Linked DNA regions of Homo sapiens: region 2 is linked to region 1. The links are contacts of gene promoters, found by promoter capture Hi-C in blood cells and fetal thymus (Javierre and others, 2016). All regions are on one chromosome and are shown on one strand. The core of a region is centred on a gene start or on the middle of the fragment in contact, and the rest is flanking DNA. Distances in the headings are between cores, read along the strand shown. Region 1 holds the start of RNPEPL1 (arginyl aminopeptidase like 1). Region 2 holds the start of ING5 (inhibitor of growth family member 5).

The links. Contacts are between HindIII fragments. The CHiCAGO score rates a contact against its expected background, and 5 or more counts as called.
Region 2: a contact is called between the fragment with the promoter of ING5 here and the fragment with the promoter of RNPEPL1 in region 1, in 2 of 17 cell types (naive CD8 T cells and neutrophils). The highest score is 8.7, in naive CD8 T cells.

The regions. Positions count from the first base shown.
Region 1 is chr2:240,565,957-240,571,124 of GRCh38, reverse strand. It overlaps RNPEPL1 (arginyl aminopeptidase like 1), which reads right to left and starts at 2,641. Exons shown (of 11, transcript NM_018226.6): 1 at 2,011-2,641. The coding sequence starts at 2,538. RefSeq lists enhancers at 917-1,555, 1,505-1,684, 1,556-2,194 and silencers at 1,955-2,004, 2,245-2,434, 2,575-2,634, 2,665-2,924, 4,435-4,674. The HindIII fragment of the contact is 8,327 bases long and covers 1-4,877 here.
Region 2 is chr2:241,699,191-241,704,358 of GRCh38, reverse strand. ING5 (inhibitor of growth family member 5) reads right to left here and starts at 2,320. Exons shown (of 8, transcript NM_032329.6): 1 at 2,257-2,320. The coding sequence starts at 2,293. RefSeq lists enhancers at 1,202-1,831, 2,070-2,902 and silencers at 1,557-2,116, 2,301-2,464, 2,207-3,026. The HindIII fragment of the contact is 17,390 bases long and covers 1-5,168 here.

The sequences.
Region 1 (5,168 bases), core at 1,392-3,891:
TTCACAAACGCAGCCTCCCCCTTGGGGGGGGCTGGGACCTGGGAATCTGTATGAAGGAACCTCCCTGCAGGAGTCTCCCCAACCCTTCAGCCTGCACGGCCCCCTCACAACTACTCCTCTCCTGTGGCCTTGCCTCACCCTCCTGAGGCCCTTCTCAGGCTCTGCCCACTCACACCTCTCCCTACTGCCCCATGTCCACCCCACAGCCTCAGTAGCCTGGGTGTCTTCCCAGATACCAGCAGGGCCCACAGCTCCCCACTTGCCCTGAAGTGAGGGGCTGGGGCAGACCCCCAGACAGGACAGGCCCTGCCCCACAGATGGGGCACCAATCCCCGTCAGGGCACCCGGGCACAGGTGCTGATGGGCTGGTGGAAAAGGAACAAGGCTGAAGGGCTCCAGACGCTGCAGGGCAGGAAGAACGCTGTTCTTGCTGGGGTGGGGTGGGGGTGCGGGAATGGGCCCAAGCATCTGCAGCACCTCCAAAAAGCCTCTGGGGGCCTGGGGCCCACTGGCAGGGCCTCCCAGGGAGCTTCCGCTGCATCCTCCCTGGCACAGGGACAGGCTTAGGGATTTGGGCCTGAGTCCCTGGAACATGCAGGAAGAGAAGGGGACTCTACGTGTGGCCCCAGCCCCATGGCGCTCACATACAAAGGTGCATGCCTGAGGTTAGAGTCGAATACTCTGCCTTCTGCAAGTAGGGCGGCTCACAGGCCAGGTGACGCTAGGCCCCCTGTCCACAGCCTGCCAACCCTGACACCACGCAGACTTGGGGGACTATGCCACTCTCCCTGCCCAGAGTACCCAAGGGCCACCCAGTAGGCCATAGGAAGCCAAGAGACAATGGCCACCCTTGCTCACTGGGCCCCGTTCACAGCAGCCTGCTGAGGGCCCTGGTCCGGCCACTCTGCAGGCCAGTGTTGGGCGGACCAGACACGTGGGCTCCAAACACGGATCAAGGCCAAGGAGAAGCCCATCCCTCAGTTCTCACCTGTCATACTGGGAGGCATACTTGCCACCGGTCAGAGCCCTGGAATACCACAGCAGGGGCGGGGCCGGCTAGCCAGCGGCCTGCACACCCACAGGGGTTCTGGGAAAAAGGTGAGGTGGCAGGTCCTGCTTAGGGCTCCTGGGAAATGTACAGGAAGCCCATAGGGGTGCACTGGTCTGGGTTCTTCCTGCCCAGATGTCACCTTGGCTCTTTGTGGCCTGAAGCCTCTCGACCACCTCTCCACCACCCTGTCCATTTATGTGCCGTGACCAGTGACAGCTGGACTTCCCAGCGCCTCCACAGCTGTGTGTGTCTTGCATATGTCGGGTGTCACATGTGTGCCGTCCATACCACCTAGGGATGCAGTATGAACCCCCATGCTGTAGGCAGGAAAGGCCCTGCTCCATCCTGTACACATCCCCACTGGTGGAGGTGGAGGGGGTGCTGCAGCCACAGCGCCAGCCTCAGCCACCTGGCCTTTCTTGCAGAGTCTCTGGAGTGGTGGGTACCCAGTGTGCAAGCCCTGCAGAGCCTATGTGTGTCTATGTTGGGGTCGCGGGGCCCACTGGTCTCAACACTCCACCAGTGCTGGCCAAGGAAGCCCCAAACCGAGCATCACAATCTCCATGGCCCTTTCCTCTGCCTCTGGCTTGGACTCATCTGCACGCACTGGTCACATGGAGGCCCTTCCGCAGCTGACACTCCAGCCCAACCCTTGGTGCCAGGATCCTGCAGATGTACACCTCGGTGGGTGACAGAAGCTGCTCATGTCCCCAGGCAGGGACCAGACACCTGAACGGGAGGCTTCCCGGAGTGACATGCTGTCCCGTGTCCCCGCAGGACTCCGGCTTCTATCCGAGGGTCCTAAGGGCTCACAGGCAACAGCTGGGAATCACCGGGGTGGGGGGAGGGGGGCACCTGTAGGGCGCAGATTCGCGTCCCTCAGCCTGGCCGTGCGGCGAGAGGCCGCTAGCAGCGCCCTGCGGACCGGCCCGCAGCCCCGGCGCCCGCCCCGGACTCACGGCGGGGGCGTCGGTCGAGGTGTACCGCAGGATGACCTGGAAGGGCTGGTGCGCCTGCAGCTCGGGCGGCAGCGTGACGGTGAGCGAGGAGCCGTAGTCGGTGAACGGGTCCACCCTGAAGGCCAGCGGACAGCAGGCGGGCTCGGAGCCGGGCGCCTCGGGGAAGGCGGGCAGCGGGGGCGGCGGCGCGGGCCCCGGCCCGGGGGCGGAGAAGGCGAAGGCGCAGGGCGTCTCGGCGGCGGCGGCGGGGGCGCGACGGAAGGCGGCTGAGTGCAGGCGCAGAGCCGGGTGCGCGTCGAGCACGAGCGCGCGGGGCGCGGGCCGCAGCGCGCACAGCTCGAGCACCAGGCAGCCGGCCAACTCGCGCGCCTCGGGCCGCAGCTCCAGGCCCAGCTGCAGGTGGCGGAGGCGGAAGAGCTGCGCGCTGGAGGCCGAGGCCACGTCCAGGGCGGGCGGCGGCTCGGGCGGCGGGCGGACGGGCGCGGCCTCGGCGCCGGGCGCCTGGCGGCAGCAGCACTGCGCGGCCATGGCCGCCGGCACTAGGTGAAATCCATGGGCGGCGGCCGCGCCGGGCCGCGGGCGAGGGGCGCCGGGCGGCGGCGGCGGCGGGGCGCGGGCACAACAGGAAGTCGCGCCGGGAGCCGCCCGGCCCGGCCCCGCGCCGTGCGCCGCCCCGCTCGGGCTCCGCTCGGCCGCCGCCGGGGGCGCTGTGCGCGGGGCCGGGGCGCGGGGCCGGGGCGCCGGGCGGGGAGGGCCAGGAGCCAGGGGCGCGGGGAGCCGGGGAATCGAGCGCGGCGCGGGGCCGGGGCGCTGTGTTGGGAGCCGAGGCGCGCGGAGCGGGTGAGCAGCACCCCCAGCCCCTCGCTTCCTCCCCGGGCGGCGCCCGGGAGATCCCAGGAGGCGGGATCGCTGCTCCCTCCCAGACACTGCCGGCCAGGCCCCTGGGGCAGCCGCTGAAGGGACCCGGGAACCTTGGGGCCACAGGGGCAGGCTGCTTCCAGGTGTGGTTCGTGTTCCCGAGGAGCGCAGCGTCGCGAACTCAATGTCATCCTTTCATCCGGGGCTACGGGCAGGGCAGGATTCTCCTGGCACCCCTGCCACTCCTCCAAGTCTACAGGTGTGGTCTGTGCTGTGGGCCCTGCGGTGCGAGAAGCGCCGGAGCCTTCACGCAGCGCTGTCAACTACAGCAGCCACCAACCACGTGTGGCCATTTAGATGCGAATTAAATACAGTTAGAAGTTCAGTTCCTTCGTGGCAGGTGGAGTGAGTGAGTGTGTGTGTCTTCCTGGGAGGAGTGGCTAATGGACAAAGCAGGCAGGAATCATTTCCACAATCGCAGAAGTTCCTCTGGGCAGTGCTGGGGACCTCTCATTTGGGAGCCCTGTGCTGGGGTACGAAGGAGGGTCTGGCCCGCCTGTCCCCACCCCATCCGCCAGGTCCACCCTTCCCAACGCCATTCTCTGTGGACCTGGCGAAGGCTGCCCAAGGCTGAGCCTGTCCAGGAGCCTGAGCCCCGAGGGAAGGGGTGCTCGCCTGGCAGAAGCTGCTAGTGAGCTCACAGCGGTTAAATTTTGAGGCTGTGGAATAACAGGGGCCACCATGATGTCGCTGTTGTCATCAAGTAAGAATTCAAATTCCTAGGGACAAGGGGCTTCTGGGGCTGGGGAACTATCCAGGAACCCAGGACACCTCTCTCTTCTGCTCCATTGAGGTGTGGCCGTGCAGGGCTGGACTCGGGTACCGCACTCGACTCAGCGTCAGCCCTGAGTAGTGTTTCCTGTGTCTGGACTCAGTCTCCTCGTTGTGTAACCCTCTGTGTCTACCCTCCTTCCGTGGGGCGGGAAGGAAGGCTGAGAGGGAGAGTGTGCGTTCACGTTTGCGGGACAGAGCACTGAGGCATCATTTCAGTTTTCCCGTAGGACCTCAGGTCCCCACGTGCCCTCTTTAGGGACACGGCCACGATCTTGGGGCACCCATCCCAAACTCACCAGGAACCCCTAGGCTTACACAGTCACTCAGAGGTGTGGATCAGCCTCGCATCCAAGGCTGACAGGGAAGACAGCTGAGATGGGACCCTCCTCACTGCCCCCAGCGCCCTGCCCGGTGGGGCCCTGCAGTGCCAAGGGCAGACTGTTTTCGATGGCACCCCCAGTTCTACGGGGCTCTCCAGAGCCCACCGGGCCATGTTCCTGGCTGGAAGAACCTCAGTTCTGCACACGCGGTGCCACACTAGCTGGGCCTGGCCGTCCGGGGGGCAAGTCACCACAGGGAGCTTGGGGTCTTGCCACCCAGAGCCCCGCATTGGGCTCAGGGAGCAGAGGTTGGGGTCTCGCCCTGGGCACCTCTCCGCGGCCAGTTCTGCACACAGGAGTCCAGAGTTGCTGTGGCACCTCCTCCCCGGGGGCCCAAGGGAGCGCCTCCCACCGCGCACGTATGTGAGGAGCTGCCCTACTGCACCCCATGGAGCGGGAGGCGCGGCTGAGCCGAGGGGGCGGGGTCTGCAACTGAGCCGCGGGAGCCTCTCGCGCCGGCCCCGCCCCGCCCCGCCCCGCCCGAGGAGGCCCCGCCCCCGCCGGCCTGACGCCCCCTGGCGGCGGGAGGCTACGCCGCATGCAGGCCTGGGCAGACACCTCTGACTTCTCTAACCCTGGCAGAGGAGCCTGGACGTCGCGACTGTCAGCCCTGGCTTTCTCCCACAGGAGTTTTCATACTCCAGCTTTTTGGTGATCAGCGCAGTGAAGTGGCTGCGCGGCATCTGCACCCCAGCCTTCCCCTGATGCACCCGAGGGAGGGGTTCCTGGCTTCACCCACTAGGAGGTGGGTGTGGGCATGGAGCGTTTTAGCAGGCTGGGGAGGGCAGCAAAGCTTCCAGGAAGAAGCAGTGTTCAGACAGGGCCGCGCCCAACCCCGACAGAGGACCAGGGAGCTACCAGTTCTCAGATGGAGCTGGTGGGCTAAAAAGGTCTGATGTGACCCACAGGTGTCCTTCAACCTGGCCGGGGCCCTGCTGCCCTTGTCCCCTTGTCACCAGGGCCAGGTCAGCAGGTAAAGGGTGTGCCCTGCCCTGAGGCAAGGGCAGCCGAGGTTTTCATCAGGGTGTTGTGAGCAGGGCTGAGCCGCGGGGGAAACCGCAGACCCAGGTCCTCCCTCCTCTCCAA
Region 2 (5,168 bases), core at 1,071-3,570, 1.1 Mb before region 1:
TGACCTCAGGTGATCCGCCCACCTCGGCCTCTCAAAGTGCTGGGATTACAGGTGTGAGCCACCAGGACTGGCCAAAAGTTTTATACTTCAAGTCTACAAGCCCACTCTGTATTCTGTCTCTGTCAGGGTTTGCGGAGCGGAAGGACTGTGATCTCATTTTTAGATGCAGGTACCAAACAGTGCTGACAAGAGGCTGTGTGCACACTTCGGAAGCTGTCAGAAGTCAAAGAAGGGAGAGGGAAACTTGGAAACCAACAGCACAGGCAGGGGAGGCCAACTGACCCCACCCTCTAGGCTGCCCCCCCTCAGTGAGCAGCATCTTCCAAGGCTCAAGCCAAAATCCCCTGGGTCCTCCTTGATCTTCCCCTACTTTACCCAGAAATCCAGTGCATTGAGCAGTGTAGCCACGCTGCCCACGCGACTTTATGCAAGGATAGAAATGTTTCCTCTCTCGGATGGGCGTGGTGGCTCATACCTGTAATCCCAGCACTTTGGGAGATCAAGACAGGCAAATCAGTTGAGGTCAGGAGTTCAAGACCAGCCTGGCCAACATGGTGAAACCCTGTCTCTACTAAAAATACAAAAATTATCCAGGCGTGGTGGTGCACAGCTACAGTCCCAGCTACTCGAGAGGCTAGGGCATGAGAATTGCTTGAACCTGGGAGGTGGAGGTTGCAGTGTGCTGAGATCATACCCTCCAACCTGGGCAACAGGGTGAGACTCCATTTCAAAAAAAATCAAAAAAAGAAAAAGAAAAGAAATGTTCTCTCTGAGCTGCCCAAGACAGTGGTGGCCATAGGGAGCTACTGAGCACTGGAAATGGGACTAACGCCATTCAATTTTTAATTTTACTTAAATAGTCCCTGTGGCTAGCGCAACCATTCCCCACAGTCTGCCAGGAGGACCCCCGTGCTGCTTTCGCGTCTGCTTTGTTACCCCCTAGACCAGGCCAACCTCCGCCCCCTGCACAGCTGACACAGGCTCCTAAGGGGGGCTGCCTCCTCCAGTCTTGGCCACCCTCCCATCTGCTGTTCACAGTTACCAGGCAATCATTTTAAACCTAACTCTATCTTATGCATCTGATGCTTCCAGCCCCAGTGTTTTCCCAGCTCCCCTAGAGGACAGAGGCACAGCCTCCCGGCTGGCACAGCCTCCCAGACACACACAAAGTCAACCCTCCTTGGGAGGCCAGCCCACTGGCTGGGCACCAGGATAGAGAAGGCCTCCCCTCCAGCGTGCTCCCCAGCTTGACTCTTCTACCCAGGGAACCCCCCACTACTCAGACCCCCAAGAGACAGCGGAGCACATGGGCAGAATCGGGCGTCCCTCTAGGGCAGCGGTCTCCAGCTCCAGGCCACGGCTCACTCGCCACTGTCTCAGCCCCTGGGCGGGTGCCAGGCCGAAGACCATGAGGATCCCCAGTGCAGCGCCCCCACAAGGGCCCTCCAGAGCCACCCGGCACAACCCCAAACACCGCGACCCCAAAGCTGTGCCCATCCCGGGCCGACGTCAGGGGTCCCGCGTGGGGTCTGCCCCTCTACGAGCGGGAGACCCTGAGCAGGCTGCTCGGCAGCGCTGGACCTTCCCTGGTGTGTAAAGTGAGGGAAAGCACCGTCCGCTCAGCCGCTGGGGGCGCCGACCTGCTGCCACCTGGAAACAGCACAGCCCGCCCACCAGGGCCGACTCGGCACCGCCCTCCCCGCCTCCGCGCCGCAGTCCCCAGTGCCGGGGAGAGACGCCCCGCGGCCCGCACGCCCTCCCCAGCCGCGGTCACACAAGAGGCCGGCGCACACGGGCGCACAGCCAGGCGGAGGCCCAGACCCCGGAGCCCCCAAGGCCCGGAGCCCCGCAGCGGGCGCCAGCTCCTCCTGCAGACGGGACAGGGACGGGCGGGACCTGGCGGGGCCGGGGCCGGAGCTGGGGGCGGAGATGAGGCGGGGCCTGGGTAGGGGCGGGACCTAATATGTGGGCGGGGTCGAGGCCGCAAGCCCCGCCCAGCATCGCCAGGCCCCGCCCCGCCGTGACGCACCTGGAATTGGCGCGACCCAGCCGGCGGGACCCCCCGCGCCCGCCCCCCGCGCCCTCCCCTCCCTTGCGGCCCTGCCCCGCCCCGTCCGCGCGCCCCCCGTCGCGCCCGGCCGCGCCCGCCGCCCTCCCGAGCCCACGGGGTCTGCATGCGGTGCCCGGCGCGCGGGGGGCTGCGGCACGGAGGACTCCGCGTGGGCGGCGGGCGCGGGGCCCGTGGGGCGCGCTTACTGTCCAGATAGTGCTCCAAGTACATGGCGGTCGCCATCTTCGTCCGCGGCCGCGCTCGGGGTCTGCGCGGGCGGGCGGTGCCGCGGGAGGCGGGGGCGGGGCGGTGCCAGCGCGCTCACTATTCATGAGTCGCGCGCGCTGATTGGTCGCGCCCGGGGGCGGGGTCGGACACGCCTTTCAGCTTCCGGCGGGCGGCGGGCTGCGGGGCCCGGGCGGAGGTTGTGGCAGCGGCGTCGGGCAGCGAGCAGGACCCAGGGCCGCAGCGGATCGGAGGCCGAGGAGGAGCAGGGGTTCCCGGCCCCACCGCCCGGCGTGCGGCCCAGGGCACCCAGGTGGGCGTCTCCCCTCCGCACCTGTCAGCGACCCCTGGGCCACCAAACGCAAACACGTGGTCCCGGGGACCTCACGCCCGTCCTGACGGCGCCCACGCGACCCCTGCTCCCGGCCGGGTCCCGGACAGGCCGCCACGAGGCCCTCCCTTCCCGAAGGCTCCTTGGGACCTGTCTGGCTCAGCGCCTTTCCCCCGGACCCCGAGCCCCCGGGGCCTCAGCCCGGCCTGAGCCGAGGGCCGGCACCGCGTGGCCCGGGCGAGCTGCCCCTCCCTCAGGGCCTGGGCCCTGGCGCCCTTCCCCCGCCAACGCCGCCCCTTCCCTCCGAGGAAAGCGGCCGCCCCGCCCAGCACCAGTGAGGGCACTGGCTCCTTTGCTGCCACCTCTCGAGGCAGGCAGGACCCGCACCATCTGGATGCCTTGGCCGAAAAGGCACGTGCGGCAGTATGATATAGTTAATAAGATGGCGTGCAAAGGTGTGCCGTAAGATGCATGCAAAAATACTGGAGAAGGCCGGCGCGCTGGCGCACGCCTGTAATCCCATCACTTTGGGAGGCCGAGGCGGGCGGATCACTTGAGGGCAGGAATTTGAGACCAGCCTGGCCAACGTGTTGAAACCCCGACTCTACTAAAAATACAAAAAAAAAAAAAAATTAGCCAAGCGTGGTGGCGCACGCCTGTAGTCCCAGCTACTCCGGAGGCTGAGCCCGGGAGGCGGAGGTTGTAGTGAGCTGAGATCGCGTCTGCACTCCAGCCTGGGCGACAGAGCAAGACTCTGTCTTCAAAAAAAAAAAAGAAAATTTTAAGAAAAAAAAAATACTGGAGAAACATAATTAAAATATGTTTCAGACTCGGCACGGTGGCTCACGCCTGTAATCCCAACACTTTGGGAGGCCGAGGCGGGCGGATCACTTGAGGGCAGGAATTTGAGACCAGCCTGGCCAACGTGGCGAAATCATGTCTCTACTAAAAATACAAAAATTACCCGGGCGTGGTGGCGGGCGCCTGTACTCCCAGCTACTCGGAGACTGAGGCAGGAAAATTACTTGAACTTGGGAGAGGGAGGTTGCAGTGAGAAGAGATCATGTAACTGCACTGCAGCTTGGGTGACAAGAGCAAGACTCCGTCTCAAAATAATAATAATACAAAAACTAGCCGGGCATGGTGGCAAGTACCTGTAATCCCAGATACTCGGGAGGCTGAAACAGGAGAATCGCTTGAGCTTGGGAGGCGGAGGTTGCAGTGAGCCGAGATTGCACCACTGCACTCCAGCCTGGCCAGCAGAGCAAGATTCCATCTCAAAAATAAAATAAAATAGGGCAGGCGCGGTGGCTCACTCCTGTAATTCCAGCACTTTGGGAGGCCAAGGCGGGAGGATCACGAGGTCAGGAGATTGAGACCATCCTGCCTAACACGGTGAAACCCCATCTCTACTAAAACTACAAAAAAATTAGCTGGGCATGGTGGCGGGCGCCTGTAATCCCAGCTACTCGGGCGGCCGAGGCAGGAGAATGGCGTGAACCCGGGAGGCTGAGCTTGCGGTGAGCCGAGATCGTGCCATTGCACTCCAGCCTGGGCGACAGAGCAACACTCCGTCCCAAAAAAAAAAAAAAAAAAAAAAAACTTAGCCGGGCATAATGGCTGGTGCCTGTAATCCCAGCTACCCAGGAGGCTGAGGAAGGAGAATCACTTGAACCTGGTACGTGGAGGTTGCAGTGAGCCGAGATCGTGCCACTGCACTCCAGCCTGGGTGACAGAGCGAGACTCCATCTTAAAATATAAAATAAAATAATTTAAAGTGTTTAAATATTAGTCTTTGGGGTGATTCTTCTCTGCCTCCAAACTGTGTAGCATCATCATGCAGTGCTCACCAGTACCCATGTCACTCCTCTTCCCACTTCACCACTGGACGCCCCCAAGCTGGGGATCAAACTCATCTCTGGCAGGTCTTTCATGGGTGAGGTGTGTCACTTCCCAGTCCTGTCTCCACTCCCTGTGATCTCAAGAGGACGTCCCAAAGGCTCCCCGAGCCCCAAGAACTGATGACCACTAGATGTAACGTGTAGGCCCCAGAACCCCCCGCCCCACCCCCAGCCACATCCTTGACTTCCGAGATGCAACGTTGCTGGTCACACAAATTAGCATAAGCTGATCAAAGGAGCAGTACTTTCATTATTTAAAATGCATTTTTAAAGATATTAAGCCAGCTGCTGTGACTCAAATCCGTATGATCACCATGAGAGGCTGAGGCGGGAGGATGGCTTGAGCCCAGGAGGTCTAGGCTGCAGTGAGCCATGATCAAACCACTGTACTCTTGCCTGGGTGACGGAGACCCCCACCTAAAAAAACAAGCTATGTCCCCCTTGGTGGACTCTTCCCTAAACCCCAGTCAAATATTGAAAACCAGAAACAATGTTTTTGCCACTATTATGTTCATTATAAAAATTCAGGCCAGGCATGGTGGCTCACGCCTGTAATCCCAGCACTTTGGAAGGATGAGGTGGGTGGATCACCTGAGGTCAGGAGTTTGAGACCAGCCTGACCAACATGGAGAAACCCAGTCTCTACTAAAAATACAAAATT